Linked DNA regions of Homo sapiens: region 2 is linked to region 1. Evidence: promoter capture Hi-C in 16 types of primary human blood cells and fetal thymus (Javierre and others, 2016). All regions are on one chromosome and are shown on one strand. Each heading gives the region's core, a stretch centred on a gene start or on the middle of the fragment in contact. The rest is flanking DNA. Distances are from core to core; before and after follow the strand shown.

Region 1 (4,705 bases), core at 1,521-4,020:
TTAAAATGAGATAAGAGAAGAGCTTGGTATTCAATATATGAAAATTAACCAGTGTAATTGTTTCATAGTACGGAAGAGAGAGGTTAAAACTCCTGGCCTGGAGTCAGGCCTTGATTCAAATGCTGCCTTGCTCAACTTAGTAGCTGAGCAAAAGTTACTTGACACCTTTGTGTCTTAGTTTCCTCATCTGTAAAACAGGATTACAAACAATATCTGCCTCATAAGATTTTTGTGATGTTTAAATAAGTTAACACCTGTGAAAGTATTTTAAAATGCAATGCCTGGTAAAGTGCTCAATATATTTTAGCTACTGTTATCAATCTTTGTTTCAAGTGTAGGGAGAATAAAGTAATGAAGGAATATATTTGTTTGAAACAGATTTTGAAACAGATGCATGTGACCTTTTCATTTGATGCTACGTTAAACAACAAAGAAACTGGAGAAAACGGTAACAGGATGAAGCCGGTGCACACTGTCTGTACTAAGAGGGGTACCTAGATTTCAGATTTGGCATGCATTTTACAAGACTGGTCTACATCGCTGTTTTTATGGACAGAGCAGCACCCAGGCTGGATCCTTGACTCAGCACTGTCATCAAAGGCAAGGCTCATTTATTAAACGTAGACTCGGGAAGGAGTATTTTTGGAAGCAGAGGGATTGGGAAGAAAGACCCTAGAGCCTTCTCTGAGATATAAAACATGGTGACTGAAATGCCAAGTGACTTCTTACTCTCTTCGAAGTTAGTCAGAAACTGAAGACCATGGACCACTACTTTAAGAACTCTGCCCCTTTTCCTGCGGGTCGAGTTTATTTTCTCTGCTCATATCCCTACTGGTGATTTACCTAAAGCTTTAACAGTAAAACAATCATGCATGTTTTCAATAGCAAAGAGGGAGGAAAGGCTGGGGGTGGGGAAGGACTGCAAGCCAGCCCCTCCTCCTCCAGGGGACTGTGCACCAGCGGCTGCAGCATCTCAGAGGTCCAAAGAAGGAGGAAGCAAGTGCATTTGTATCTGAGGCCTGAGACAAGGAAGACAAAGTAAAATGCTGAGATGCTGTGGGCCAGAAACAGGGCTAAGAGCTTGACAGGCTGGAAAAGCCTGCATTCGACCCCCAACTGTATTCTAAAAACTTCCCAAGGATGGTGCTAGAGGTTTTAAGAGGAATGGGTCTTGGAGCACTGGATCCTCAGACCTAAACAAATATTCGAGAGTTAGTTCTTATGAAGAGAACATGTGGTAACTCAGTGGCAGGTGTTTCAGATTTTATTTTATTGAGAAATATGATCAAAAGAGCTGAGTTAGGACCCCTTTTTCCACACCAAACCTTTTTGAACAAACTTGGCATTTTAAATAATTAGAGGTAGTATTACATTCTCACCAGTACCCTCAGCTTGCAAATTGCACTGAATATTCCCTTTTCAAATTTACTAACACTGATCAACGTATATCTCTATAATTTCCACAATTAAAGTATGTACACAGACTGGTTACCCATGTCTGTGTTAACATCAGGCGTTGGGTTGTCACCTGCAGTTGCCTATGCCTTACTGTTAGCTATACTTTTTGCTAATCTGGAATATTTGGAAGCAATTCTTCACAACTCTGAACTACAATAAGTCTACAATGCCCACTTGAAAGGCATTCCAAGCAAGAAAATGGCTGGCTACTTGTTCCTGCCCCTTACCTAGGATTAGTAGAGGCCAGAATAGCGAATATATTCCATCTTCTGCATGTTGTTGAGTCTCTGATCTCCTATGTAATTTCCTGTCCTGATCCTGGGCTTCTGTTTAATCTTATTAGCCAAGGTACAAGTCATGAGACTCCCGCACACTCAGTTCCCATCAGCGCTGCCAGGATCACTGCCCTTATGATGACGACGCACGGATTTATAAGGCCAGAGCGATTCCGAATGGGAGCGGGGGAAGGAGAGCCAGGCGGCCGTGAAGGTGTTTACCAAAACAACATCCCCCAGCCACACTTTTTCGCAGCAGAGAGAAACTGGCATCTTCTCGCTTTGAAGTGTTTAATTAATGCCCTGCTGGAAGTGAATTCGCTCCCTCCGACTTGCAGGGTAGTGACAGCATCTAAGAGCTTTGCAGACAGCTCGAAATGTAATCAAACAGCATCCTTTCCCCTCCCTCTGCAGCTTTCCCCCTCCTCCAGGGGCAGTCAGCCGGTGGCCCAGAGGGGTGCAGATTTCAGCGCCGCTCGCCCACTGCTCCCCCGGGGAAGACCGAGGCGGGGCGCACTGGGACGCCCTTCCCAGCCCACAAGGTGGGCGACCAGGTGGTGACACCACGACCCTTCCTTCTCTGCCCTAGTCTCTCGGCTCTGCCGAGAGGGGGGTGTCACTGGGGGGCTTTGGCCGCCTTCGGGCTCAGCGGAGCACGCAGGAGCCTGGGCAGGGGGCCAGGACAAGGGTCCGGCTGCGGCTGCAGGGGCCTCGGCTCCAGCCTGGTTCCCAGCGCAGACGACACCGGGGTGGGGAGGGTTGGGGAGAGGTGCGGAGGCGGCCGTCCGGGGAGCGGCGACATCCCGCTCCAGTTTACCTGGACGCGCTCGGCAGCGGCGGAACTGGGCTCCCCGAGCCGGCGGCGGCTCCTGGGCGGCGGCAGCGTTGGTGCAGGCGGCTCCCGAAGGTGGCGGGGCCGGCGCGGGCAGGATGTGCTGTCTCACGCTGCGCCGGCCGCTCGGCTCGCGCTCCTCCGGGAGCGATCACTTCCTCTCTCCCAGAGCCTGACACTGACAGCTCCCCGGAGCACTCAGTCTGCGGGGCTCGCCCCGCCCCCTGCCCACGCCCTCCACGCCCGCGCCCCTCCTGAGGGAGGGCCTCCGCTCCGCGTCTTCCGCGCCCGGTCTCGCCAGGAGGGGGTGGCGCCGCTCCGTAGGCTGGTGGCGAGCAGAGGACCTGGAAAGGTCAATTCGTCTATCCCTCTAACGTCGGTAGGACTTAGACCTCAGTTGCTGCAAAGAGAAGAGCTTCAATATTCTGGGAGCTCCTGCTGAAATGCCACCATTGAACAACTTTCACTCCCAGGCAACTACACTTCTTAAGGTCATTTAAATAGAAATAAAGCTCAGATCTACCTGTTGTACACAATGACTTATAGGTCTGATTGATCCCAATTTTTCTAGAAGAAAAAAGAATTAAGTGTGTGTGTCTGTGTGTGTGTGTGTGTGTGTGTGTGTGTGTGTGGTGTGGTGTGTGTGTAGCTTGTCTTCACATTGCTTCTTAAAGTCCCAGCTTTTAAAAATCTGGGTAACTGGCCAGACGCGGTGGCTCACGCCTGTAATCCAAGCACTTTGGGAGGCCGAGGAGGGCGGATCACCTGAGGTCGAGAGTTGGGGGACCAGCCTGACCAACATGAAAAAACCCCGTCTCTACTAAAAATACAAAATTAGCCGGGCGTGGTGGTGCATGCCAGTAATCCCAGCTACTCGGGAGGCTAAGGCAGGAGAATGGTTGAACCCGGGAGGCGGAGGTTGTGGTGAACCGAGATCCCGCCACTGCACTCAAAGCCTGGGCAACAAGAGCGAAACTCCGTCTCGGGGAAACAAAAAAAAATCTGGGTAACTATTATTGGACTCTGCAAAAAACAAGCTTGCCACAACAGCTAAGTTATAAGGCCAAAAAATTGAGTTTGGGATGTTAGGGGGTTTGGTATCATTTTATAGATGAGCTTTTCATCATATTTCTTGCACATCTGTGGTGTATTTTTACACATTAGAATGTAAATTAGTGGAGGGCAGGGACGCTATCTTGTTCACTGCTGTATTCTTAGTATCTAGAACAGCATTCTGATATATAATGGGTACTCAGTAAATATTTATGAACTTATTAATTCACAAGTACTACAGTAATTTCAAAATAAATACAGATTCTAGTATGAATACAGTATGAATACATACTCATCTGTAAATGGCCATCCTTATTCTAAAACTTTGGCCTCCCTGGCTAATCTACTGCGATTGTAACTATGGCTAGAAATGAAGAGGTTAAATGTCTAGGTAGAAGGTATTCAAGGTATTCCAGAAGGAAAAATCTAGGAAATAAATATTTGCCACTACCGTGACTGAATATTTAATACATGTCAATTCTACATACATTTTTCTTTAACTTTTCTATAACATTATGTAGTACATATAACGAATGCCATGCCTCCAGAAAAGGAACTTGAGTCAAAGAAGTTAACTCCCTTGCCCAAGTTCCATAACCACTGAGTGATCTAGCTGAGATTTGAATTCCCATTCATCTGCAGCTTGTACTTTAACTACTTTGTATTTTGGTCTTTCCAACATGGCATTGCTTTTGTTGTTGTTGTTGTTTTGTTTGTTTGTTTGTTTGTTTTTTGAGACAGAGTCTCCCTCTGATGCCCAGGCTGGAATGCAGTGGCACAATCTCGGCTCACTGAAACCTCCATCTCCTGGGTTCAAGCGATTCTCCTTCCTCAGCTTCCTGAGTAGCTAAGATTACAGGTGCACACCACCTAGCCCGGCTAATTTTTGTATTTTTAGTAGAGATGGCATTTCTCCATGTTGGCCAGGCTGGTCTCGAACTCCTGACCTCAAGTGATCTGCCTGCCTCAGCCTCCCAAAGTGCTGGGATTACAGGTGTGAGCCACCATGCCTGGCCTCAACATGGCATTGTTGAGTGCCCACGAAGTAGGAGCTGGGACTTAGACACTGGACCAAATTGAAGACTAG
Region 2 (4,705 bases), core at 1,628-4,127, 2.1 Mb before region 1:
GCCTGTAATCCCAGCTACTCAGGAGGCAGGAGAATCACTTGAGTCTGGGAGGCAGAGGTTGCAGTGAGCTGAGATTGCACCACTGCACTCTAGTCTGGGTGACAGAGTGAGACCCTGTCTCAAAAACAAACAAATACCTCACTGCATGGAGCCACTGAGATTTGGGGATTGTCGTTACTGCACCAGAACCCAAATCATCCTGACCGCTAGGGTGTCCTAACTAGGGTTTCTTCCCAAAAGCAAAGGCATTTTTAAAGTTCGTGACATTTAAACAAAAGAGCAAATACCAATATCTACCACTTCGTCAGGCTAACAAACCCAAACAAAGCCAACAGCCAGAAGTTAAAATAAACAGATCATTAGGTTGAAAATAGAACTGTCAAAACAGGCACAATTGACTTCATTTAGTGATTGCAAAGAACATCAGGCAAGACACACGTGTGGTCATCATAACATTTATCACATGCTTAATTGCACATGTTTGACTAAGAAAAACACAAAGTATTTAAGCTCATCTGTAGTTCAAAGTGCCTATCCGTGTATTTATCTATTCATCCTGATGTATTTATTGAGCAACTCTTTTGTGCCAGGCACTGTGCTGTGTTGCGGGAAGTCAGGGACCCCAAACGGAGGGACCAGCTGAAGCCATGACAGAAGAACGTGGATTATGAAGATTTTATGGACATTTATTAGTTCCCCAAATTAATACTTTTGTAATTTCTTATGCCTGCCTTCACTGCAATCTCTAAACATAAATTGTAAAGATTTCATGGACTAAACTTATCACTTCCCTAATCAATACCCTTGTGATTTCCTATGCCTGTCATTACTTTAATCTCTTAATCCTGTCAGCCGAGAAGGATGTATATCGTCTCAGGACCTGTAATAATTGCGTTAAGTACACAAATTATACAGCATGTGTGTTTGAGCAATATGAAATGTGGGCACCCTGAAAAAAGAACAGGATAACAGCAATTGTTCAGGGAATAAGAGAGATAACCTTAAACTCTGACCGCCGGTGAGCCAGGCAGAACAGAACCATATTTCTCTTCTTTCAAAAGCAAATGGGAGAAATATCGCTGAATTCCTTTTCTCAGCATGGAACGTCCCTGAGAAAGAGAATGCGCACCTAGGGGTAGGTCTCTAAACTGGCCCCCCGGGGCGTACCTGTCTCTTATGGTCGAGACTGCAGAGGTGAAATAAACTCCAGTCTCCCATAGCACTCCCAGGCTTATTAGGAAGAGAAAATTCCCACCTAATAAACTTTGGTCAGACCGGTTGATCTCAAAACCCTGTCTCCTGATAAGATGTTATCAATGACAATGGTGCCAAAACTTCATTAGCAATTTTAATTTCACCTTTTGCATCTCCTTGAAATGTCTGCCTTTGCACACTCTCCCTGAAAGAGGAGGGCAAGGGAGCCAGGATAGAAAGTGAGGTGGAGAAGTGTAGAGCTCTGGACGGACAAGCAGGAGATACGCAGCACAAGGAAGCACACTAGGTAACACACCAAGCAGGGGAACCTGTCTTTCACTACATAGGCAAGATGCTACGGGAAATGGGCTCTGGGTTTACACAGATTATGACTCAGTTCTCTACTGTTGTGAAGCTGTGTTTGGATAAATCCCTCAACTTTTCTGAGTCTTATTTTTTCATTTGTAAAATGTAGATAGAAGACCTACTTTCCCACATTGCTCTCAGGTTTAAAGTACGTCAATTAGGATACAGCAAAGTCTGTTTGATACTGAAAACTTTCCAGCAACAATGAACCTTAGAACAAGTCATCTCTCATCTTTGCTCTTGCCTGTAACTACTAAGCGACTACTCCATCTTCTGTTCTTAGGGATTTTAAATTGTTGACGTTTTTGATTTAGTCAGGAATGCGTTGTATGGGGATATCAAACCTGCATGCTCTCCAAGCATTGACTGTAGTCTGATCTTAGTAGGTCGTGCACATATAATTTTACTATTTCTCAATTTATTTCGGTGCTGATGTAATTAGTAAAATACGATTTAAGAGTGTTATGATACTTTTTAAAAATCGTGATGTCTTTTCTTCATCAAAGAGATACTTAAAAGCACATAATCATCTTGTGGAGGCAAGTTGACAAAATCCTTTTTGAGATTCTAAAAGGAATCTTTGTACTTAAAATGTTTAAGGACCACTGATGTATTTTGGCTTCATGTATCAATTAGATTTAGATTTTATTGTTTTAGAGATGGGGGTCTCCCTTTGTCGCCCAGGCTGGAGTTGAGCTCACCTCAGCCTCAAACGCCTGGGCTCAAACTATCCTTCTGCCTCAGCCTCCTGAGTTGCTGGGACTACCATGGTGTGCCACCAATTTTTATAGAGATGTGATCTCGCTGTGTTTCCCAGGCTGGTCTTGAACTCCTGGTTTCAAGTGATCCTCTTGCCTTGGCTTCCCAAAGTGTTGGGATTACAGGCGTGAGCCACCGCTCCTGGCCCCGATTTATTAATAGATCTTATAAGGACATTTTAGGCCTCACGCATCAGTTTCTTAGGACAAGCTTTTCTCTGCACTGCATAATAAATCAGACGGCAGTGCAACAAAAAAACGGTGATGATTTCCCGAAGAACAAACCAAGTTCAGAAGCCTCCCTAATTGTCAGAACAGCAGGTAGCCTGGGCGGAGCTCTGAGGCTATCCTTAAACAGGCGCACTGAGACGCAAGGCGCTGGAAACAAAAGAGCTCCTCCTTGCGCCCTTCCGCCGCCCCACTTAGTCCTGCTCCGCCCCGGACACCCCGCGGCCCCGCCCCTGTGCGCGCTGGTTGGTCCTCGCAGGCATGATGAAACTTCCCGCACGCGTTACAGGAGCCAGGTCGGTATAAGCGCCAGCGGCCTCGCCGCCCGTCAAGCTGTCCACATCCCTGGCCTCAGCCCGCCACATCACCCTGACCTGCTTACGCCCAGGTGAGCCGGGTCCTGCGCCCCGTGCCCTGCGCCCCGCGCCAGCATCCTCCTCGCGTGCCCTGGGGCTGCTCCGGAAGGAAGGGGTGGAGGATGCGGTCTTCAGCCTGGCACCCGGCAGACGCGGTTCGCGGGCGCCTGCTGATGCTGCGGCTCCTGCGGTAGGGAGGGCGGGGCGGACGCCTAGCGATTGTTACGCACCTGACAGCTAGCGGAAGGACCTTTCTGTCCTGGTTCCCTGAAGCATCGAGAGGGAACCGCGGCCGGCAGGCCGGACCGCTCCGGAGAGGAGGCAGCGGCAGTTTGAGCCCCTGTAAATGTTATATGTGTACTTTTTTTTACTATGTGGCGTCGAAGCCTGTGGACATTTTCGCGGTCCGGGTCCCTGCGGCGGACGGGTCGGATCGTGCTCGTGGCCAGGGCGCAGTCAGGTGTCGCGTGGTCCTGATCTAGGAAGAGACTGCGGCCTTATCACCGTCTCGGTGTCTGCTTTCACCTTCAACTGCCCCCCTCCTCACCTGGACCGCTCACCCTCCTCCTCCCCTCTCACCCCGCCATCCCCACCAGTCCCCACCTGTCTCTGTAGACTGCAAGACTCATCAAGTGACTTGCTGAGCAAACCCTGCCGAGAAGAGGTCTGTTTAGGGACACAGGCGACCAAGTACAGAAAAAGGCAAAAGAACTAGCATGCCTTTTTCAATGGCTGTCATTTTGCAGGGCTGGCTTCAGATGATTGTTATAGCTTTAAATAAAAAGGACAGTTTTCATCTCGGCCCGTGGCCTACATTATTTCTTTACTGTCCATTGCCCTGGGCGCTTGACTAATAATTTAACAGCAGTTTTTTTTTTTAAATTTTAAATCATGATTCATAGCATTGCTGTAAGAGTAATTAGAGGTAAAGTAGGGCTTGAACCTGTCTGTAGTTGGTTACTTACTGAGATCTTAATATAAAAGTAAAGGGAGAGGGTGAAGTTGTAAGTAGCACTAAGTGGAATAGAAATTAAATGCACTGAAACTGCCATGTCCAGTTCGGTAGGCGCTAGCCACCTGTAACTGTTGAGCACTTGAAGTGCTGGCTAGTCCTAACTGAGATGTATTGTGTTAAATACACTGGATTTTGTCGTTGGAGTAGGAAGAACAGTGTAAAATATCTGCTCGATAATATTTTATATTGATTACATATATGTTAAAATGTTACTATTTGGGACATACTGAGTTAAGTTTATTTAAAATTAATTTCACCTTTTTCTTTTAATGGGGCTACTAGTATATTTAAAATTACATATGTGGCTTACATATATATTTATTGGACAGCACTGTTCTAGAAGTTTAGGAAGAAATAAGAAAAATATTGAGAACAGGTAGCGGCAGTAGGAACTTTGCCCTCCTATAAGACTGATTCCAATAAAAATAATAGGTTATAGTTTTAATTGGCTTTTTCCTACTAGAAAAAATAAGTGTACTTTACATGCCTCTTTGTTCTCCCTTTTTCCCCTCCAGTTTAGTGGTTAGAATGTATTTATTATAGCAGGATTAATACAGGGATTCACTAAGCAGCGTTAAGAAGACTTAGGTAACTGATTCCCTGATGACCATACTTGATTTTCAAAGCACTTTCCTAACCCGTTTTAAATTGATATAGAGTCAAAGGCAGATGGCTTATTAGTAGTCATCTCATTTAAATCTTATGGAATTTTTCCAGTAAATCTCAAATAATTTGTTATAGGCTATTTGGGCTATTTGGTCAAGTGCATGGAAGAGACAGCATAGGAC

Evidence for each region. Contacts are between HindIII fragments. The CHiCAGO score rates a contact against its expected background, and 5 or more counts as called.
Region 2: a contact is called between the fragment with the promoter of ASNS here and the fragment with the promoter of DYNC1I1 in region 1, in 1 of 17 cell types (M0 macrophages). The highest score is 5.4, in M0 macrophages.

Annotation. Positions count from the first base shown.
Region 1 is chr7:95,770,619-95,775,323 of GRCh38, reverse strand. DYNC1I1 (dynein cytoplasmic 1 intermediate chain 1) reads right to left here and starts at 2,770. Exons shown (of 17, transcript NM_001135556.2): 1 at 2,551-2,770. The HindIII fragment of the contact is 2,753 bases long and covers 852-3,604 here.
Region 2 is chr7:97,870,580-97,875,284 of GRCh38, reverse strand. ASNS (asparagine synthetase (glutamine-hydrolyzing)) reads left to right here and starts at 2,877. Exons shown (of 13, transcript NM_001673.5): 1 at 2,877-2,934. All of the region lies in intron 7 of CZ1P-ASNS (CZ1P-ASNS readthrough), which reads left to right. RefSeq lists silencers at 2,646-2,735, 3,046-3,155 and an enhancer at 2,281-2,996. The HindIII fragment of the contact is 3,580 bases long and covers 2,532-4,705 here.